2 separate regions of the Homo sapiens genome follow, and region 2 is linked to region 1. The links are contacts of gene promoters, found by promoter capture Hi-C in human tissues and cell types (Jung and others, 2019). All regions are on one chromosome and are shown on one strand. The core of a region is centred on a gene start or on the middle of the fragment in contact, and the rest is flanking DNA. Distances in the headings are between cores, read along the strand shown.

What was found. Contacts are between HindIII fragments. The study calls those that stand out against the background at their distance.
Region 2: a fragment that was not itself captured here is called in contact with the fragment with the promoter of ABCA3 in region 1 in 2 of the 25 tissues and cell types used here (dorsolateral prefrontal cortex and hippocampus).

Annotation. Positions count from the first base shown.
Region 1 is chr16:2,339,302-2,342,710 of GRCh38, forward strand. ABCA3 (ATP binding cassette subfamily A member 3) reads right to left here and starts at 1,427. Exons shown (of 33, transcript NM_001089.3): 1 at 1,272-1,427. It also overlaps the pseudogene ABCA17P. RefSeq lists silencers at 1,048-1,107, 1,278-1,737. The HindIII fragment of the contact is 11,234 bases long and covers 1-3,409 here.
Region 2 is chr16:2,919,832-2,923,143 of GRCh38, forward strand. The region is part of intron 2 of FLYWCH1 (FLYWCH-type zinc finger 1); the gene reads left to right. It also overlaps the pseudogene RPL23AP86. Among named protein-coding and RNA genes, the nearest start is that of FLYWCH1, 9.6 kb to the left of the region's middle. The HindIII fragment of the contact is 4,857 bases long and covers 1-3,312 here.

The DNA.
Region 1 (3,409 bases), core at 177-2,676:
GTTCCAAAAGCCTGTCTGGTCAGAATGGTGGTAAGTCACTTTAGGAAGGGAGAGACGTCGTCCTGTTTTTCAGGTAGAGTTAGCAAAGGTTCAATTTAAAAGAAAAATTATCTAAGAAGTTAAAAATGAAAGTGTGGGGGAGATTCCCATGACATCCATTTTTATCTATTTTTCCCTTTCTCTTACATTTCTCATGAGGCAAACTTTCTAAAACAGTCTTAGTCTTTTCAAGTTTACAAAAGGCAGCGCCCAGACTATCTGAATAAAATGACGGGATGCCCAGGAGAAGAGTGAACCTCTCCCACGTGCTCCCTGCCTGGGCTCCATGCTGTCGCGGGGTCTCGGCTACTCACTCAGCGGGCATTTCTGGAGTTCCAGGAACACAAACCCCAACAAGATCCAATCGACGCCTTCCCGGAGTGCACAGTCCAGGACGTAACCCGGAGAACAAGCGGCAATTACCCCCTGAGGACATGGCTTCATCTGTGCGACAGACACCAAGCGCCTTCCCCACGCCCCTGACCATAAGGCCGTCCCGGCCCTTCTGAAGCGTGGAGCCGGCTTGGAACAGAGCCAAGACACACGGACGCGATGCACACAGGCGTCCTGACCGAGGGCGCCGAGAACGCGGCCTCCGGCGACTGCCACAAGCCCCTCCGCCTGGACTAGCGGCTCCCCTTTCCCGTTCCCACACAGTGGAGGGCGCAGCAAACGCCCGCCGCGGACCGTGGGCCTTGGATTCGGATTTGGAGGCTCCTCGGAACCAGAGGGTGGGAGCAGGCGGAATCCAACCCGGGCGGCTTTGCCACCGCGCGCCCGGCATCCCTGCGGCCGGAAAGCGGCGCCATCTCCGCAAGTGCGCGGCGGACGCCTGCATCCCTCGGGGCCGGGGCTGTCGGTCGCTACATATCCACCTTCTGGGCGCACACAGAGGGCCCGGGCCGTGCCGAGTCTCCGCAGGGTCGAGCTTCCCCGCGCGGCGCGGGCTCAGGCACTGCCCGCAGTGCGGGACACGCCCAAGGCTCGGATGGGAGCCGACGCTGAGGGAGCGGCACCTGCAGGGAGCGCCCGGAGCCGAGGCCGCGGCAGGAGGGGCGGGCGCGGGCGCGGCCGGAGGGGATGCGGGGTCGCGGGAGGGGCCCGCAGGCCAGGCCGGAGCTGGGGGGGGCCCGAGGCCCGAGCTGGCCGGCGAGGGTGGGAAGGGCGGACCCGGGTGGGGACCGCAAGCCCCGGGAACGAGCGCGCGAGCGGCGGGTCCCGGCGGCACTCACCGAGCCTGGGCGCCGGGGCGGCGGCGGCCGGCGCGCGGCCCTCTCGCGGGGTCCCCTCCCTCGGCCACCCGGGCTCCGCTCCAGCCTCGCAGTGGCGGCGGCACTGACAGCTGCGTGGCCGCCCTGGAGGGGAGGGTGCGCCTGCAACCCGCTACTGGCGGACGCAGCGGCCGCTCCGGCTCCTGCAGGGGGCGCCGCGGATGGCGCGTGCGCAGTCGGCCGCCCCTGCAGGTGCCCGGTCCACCCCCGGCCGCCTCGGCCGCTCCGGCCAGCCCAACCCCGCGCCTGCGCGGTGCCCCCTGCATGTCGCCCATGCCCGGCAGAGGGCGCTCTGACTTGCGCGTGCGCAGTCAGCCACCCTGCGAGTACGCGGTTCGCACCCGGCCGCGCGGCAGCCCGTGCTTGCGCACTGCTCTGTGCCCGCGCCTATGTCCAGCAGGGGGCGCGCAGCGGCGGTAGCCGAGCGAGGGCGCGGTGGCCTCTGACAGGAATGACTCTGCGCACGTGCGTTTCGCAGCAGTGGAAGTCTTCACACCCGGAAACTCGACTTTGGCCGTTTCTCCATTTCTCCTCACGCACTGTCTTTCCTTGGGCCCTCGTCACTCCTGGCACCGGGGGAAGGGCTTCCCCGCCTCTGGCCGGGCGCTGGGGCGCGACCGAAGGCGAGGCGGCGGCGAGGAACCTTCTGGAATTCGGCCGTCGGGGCAGGCGTCGAGTTTACAGGAGAAGGCGCGGTGTCCCGGGATGAGCGGAGTCGCCCTCACTTAAGGAGCGAGGGAGGCCTCGGGGGTCCCCAGCCGGGTAGGAGTCACCTCAGGCAGGAGGGCCCGGCCTTGTCGGGGTCACCTGGCGGGAGGGTCCCGGGGTGGGGCGGGGCCGCCTGTGAGGAGGGTCCAGAGAGGGTCGGGGTCACCTGAGGGGAGGGTGGGGGGGTTCGGGGATGGTTGGGGTCACCCGACGGGATGGTCCGGGGAGGGTCGGGTTCACCTGAGGGGAGGGTCGGGGAGGGTCCGGAGAGGGTCGGGGTCACCTGAGGAGGTGGTCCGGAGAGGGTCGGGGTCACCTCACGGAGCGAGCGGAACGGGGTCACCTGGAGGGAGTGTCCAGGGCGGGGGCCCTGCAGGGAGTCGCCTGCAGGGAGGGTCCCGGGCGTGTCACATTAGGCGGTCCCAGGGACGGGTCGCGGTCTAACGGGACGGGAGTGGGGAGGTGGGTCGGGGTGTCCCTGGGCCGGACCGGGTCGTGGGACTGGGTCGCCCCAGGCAGGAGAGCCTGGGAGGGGCGGGCCCCCTTGGCGTGGCAGGGAGAGGTGGAGTGAGGGACTCCCGGGCTCCAGCATGAGGGCGGGCGCCGCGCGGGGCCGACAGTTGCCGCGGGCCGGGGCCAATGGGTCCCCGAGCGCCGCCAGCGGCCGGACCACAGTGAGGTGCGTCCGTGGTCCCGGCGCCCCGGGTGAGGGAGGGCTGCTGCCGGTCCTGCCGCTGGGAGCCGCCTGCGACCCGCACCGCCAGCCCCGCGCCCAGCCAGCCGCCGGCACCACGACCCGACGGCCCCGACCTAATGCAACGCCCCGGGCCGGGGGCGGAAATCGCCCACCCCCAAGAGTCCTGATGGAGTAGGGTTTGAGCGGCTCGTTCCCCATTTTACTGTGTACATAGCACCTTTCACTCTGATGATGTTCTGGATAGCCCATTCCGCGAGCAAAGGGACTTCGTCAGGTTCATGCCTAGATCCAGGGTCCTAGAGTGCCTGGGGCGGAGGAGGCTCATGCTAAATAATTTGTTCAGTGGAATCACAGAGACCTGGCTTCAGATCTTGACCCACCAATTAATGTAGACATGTCATTTTATCTTTCTGAGTCTCAATTTCCTATCCCTAAAATTGAAATTATAATAATAGTAATTAATAATAATAGCAAACTCAAAGGTTTTTTGTTGGTGTATTCTTTTCTTTTTTGGGTCAAATGAGAAAATGCATGTTTAAGTGCTTACTACAATACCTGACACATAAATGCCAAATAAATGGTAGTATATAATGTGAGTATAGCTAGGGATTTACATAGCCTAGTCTCCGTAATGAGCATACAGGGGGAAAAAAAACCCCAAACAATTGAATGCAGTTACAGGATGGGTGGGGGA
Region 2 (3,312 bases), core at 74-2,573, 580 kb after region 1:
AGCAACACCACCATCTTGTGGCCATATGGAGTATTGCTGCTGAGGATTTAAATTTGCGCTTCCCCCGTGACGGGTGGTCCTGCCTTATGTAATGGTCCTTTGGAAAGACTCCAGGTGGCCTCTGGTGGGGGCTTCCTGCTCTCGAGGGGGATACAGTAGCAGACATGATTGAACGCAGTGTGTGCTACAGAAAAGCAAGCGCCTTAAAGGCATTAGTTCAACAATGGAAGTAGTTGTGCATTTGAGTGGCAGGATTAGGGGTCATTTTAGTATTATAGTCTTAACATTCTGAAATAGTTTCTATATATTTTTAGAATATGATATTAGAACTTAGAAAATTTCACAACATATAATGCATGCCACCCCTTCTTTGATGAGTAAACCAAACCCAAGAACAAGAAGCTTCTGATGTTTAGTAGAGCACCTGTAATCCCAGCACTTTAGGAGGCAGGTAGGTAACTAGAGGCCAGGAGTTCGAGACCAGCCTGGCCAAAATGGTGAAACTCCATCTCTACTAAAAATACAAAACAAAATTTAGCCATGTGTGGTTTCAGGTGCCTATAATCCCAGCTACTCAGGAGGCTGAGGCCTGAGAATCGCTTGACCCAGGAGGCGGAGGTTGCAGTGAGCTAAGATTACGCCATTGCACTCCAGCCTGGGTGGCCGTGAGACTCTGTCTTAAAAAAAAAAAAAAACACTTTTCCACCAAGAGACCCTTGGAATCTGAGTCATTCTGACCATTGTTTGTTTGTTTGTTTTTGTTTTTTTGAGATGGAGTTTTGCTCTTGTTGCCCAGGCTGGAGTGCAATAGCGTGAGCTCCTGCCTCAGCCTCCCGAGTAGCTGGGATTGCAGGCATATGCCACCATGCCTGGCTATTTTTGTATTTTTAGTGGAGACGGGGTTTCTCCATGTTGGTCGGGCTGGTCTCAAACTCCCCACCTCAGGTGATCTGCCCACCTTGGCCTCCCGAAGTGCTAGGATTACAGGCGTGAGCCACAACGCCTGGCCTTTTTTTTTTTTTTTTTTTTTGAGACAGTCTCACTCTGTCGCCCAGGCTGGAGTGCAGTGGCGCGATCTCAGCTCACTGCAACCTCTGCCTCCCGGGTTCAAGCGATTCTTCTGCCTCAGCCTTCCGAGTAGCTGGGACTACAGGCGCCCGCCACCACGCCCAGTTAATTTTTTGTGTTTTTAGTAGAGACGGGGTTTCACTGTGTTAGCCCGGATGGTCTCGATCTGCTGACCCCGTGATCTGCCCGCCTCGGCCTCCCAAAGTGCTGGGATTACAGGCGTGAGCCACCATTCCCAGACAGGGATTGTTTTTCAATAACTTTCCTGAGATATAATTTACATAATACCATATGATTTCTCCATCTAAAGTCTACAATTCATTGCTTTTAATATATTCAGAAAGCTGTCCAAGTATCACCACCATCAATTTTAGGACTTTTTAAGTCTACAATTCATTGCTTTTAATATATTCAGAAAGCTGTCCAAGTATCACCACCATCAATTTTAGGACTTTTTTTTTTTTTGCTTCTAAAGCCAGAGGGAGGATGGTTGCTCCCTTTCTCTGGACAGGGAAGCGGGTGAGAAGAGCTTATAGAGGCATCCATCCGGTGCTTGGGAGGCTGAGGTGGGAGGATCGCTTGATCCCAGGAGTTCAAAACCAACCTGGAAATATAGCAAGACCCTGTCATTACCAAAATATTTTTTTTTAATTTAATTAAAAAACCAGGCTGGGCAACCTGGCAAAACCCCGTCTCTACAAAGAATACAGAAATTAGCCGGGCATGGTAGTGTGCGCCTGTGGTCCCAGCTACTCTGGAGGCTGAGGTGGGAAGATGGCTTGAGCCTGGGAGGCAGAGGCTGTAGTGATCACGCCACCACACTCCGGTTTAGGCTGTAGTGAAATCCTGCCACTAAAATAAAAAATAAAAGGTATTCATTCTGGCCGGGTGTGGTGGCTCACACCTGTAATCCCAGCACTTTGGGAGGCCAAGACAGGCAGATCATGAGGTCGGAAGTTCGAGACCATCCTGGCCAATATGGTGAAACCCCATCTCTACTAAAAAATACAAAAATTTGCTAGGTGTGGTGGCGCGCGCCTGTAGTCCCAGCTACTCAGGAGGCTGAGGCGGGAGAATCACTTGAACCCGGGAGGCAGAGGTTGCAATGAACTGAGATCGTGCCACTGCACTCCTGCCTGGGCAACTGGGTGACAGAGTTAAAAAAAAGAATCCATCTTAAATGGGTACATTTTGAATCAGATAAAAATCATATTCTGAATCATGGCGGGATAACTTTAGTTACTAGAAAATCTACCTTGTAGGGAGAAGCTTATTCACTGATAATGTTAGGGAAATGGGGTGTTTTGTGTATAGTTTGTTACAGATGGCTCGTGTGTGTGTGTGTGTGTGTGTGTAGGGTTAAATATACATGACGTAAAATTTACCATATTGGTCATTCATGTAAATTGCATCCTACAACCCTTGGTCTTTGTGAGCAGCTGCTCTCCCTGAGCCTCGATGTTGAAGTGTCCAGGTCAGCGGTTCACATTCATTGTTCATCCGTCACCACCGTCCATCTCCAGAACCTTTTCATCTTCCCCAACGGCTGCTCTGTGCCCATGAAACACTCCCTCCTCATCCTCCTGCCCCTGGCACCCCCATTCTACTTTCTGTCCCCATAAGTTTGACTGCCCTGGGGACCTCATACAAGTGGAATCAGACAGTGTTTGTCCCCTTGTGCCTGGCATGTCGTATGTTGCAGATTTTTTTATGGTGAAAAGATATACATATATTTAGAATTAGCCAGCCGGACTCGGTTTACATGATCTCCATTTTGTTGGCCACACCCAAAGCATCCTGATCAGGAGCCAGTGGAACATGTGCCTTCTTCTCTCCATCAGGCCCAATCAGGGTATTGACCTGGGCCACAACCACCTCACAGAGTTCTTCACAGCCTGTTTGAGCTGGTGCTTGTTGGCTTTAACATCCACAGTGAAGACAAGTGTGTTGTCTTCTGTCTTCTTCATGGCAGACTCAGTGGTCGGTGGAAAATTGATGATCGCATAGTGGTCAAGCTCGTTTCTCCTGGGGGCGCTCTTCCGAGGATATTTGGGCTGCCTCCGGAGTCGCAGTGTCTTGGGCTGCCAGAAGGCGGGTGACGCGCGGATCTTTTTTTGGGGGGGCTGTTGTGTGGATCTTTTTTTGTGTGTGTGTGGCTGTTGTGCGGATCTATTTTTTTTATAGTTTGTTTTGTGTGTGTGGCTGTTGTGAGGTTCTTTTTTTGTGTGGCTGTGGACGCCTTTC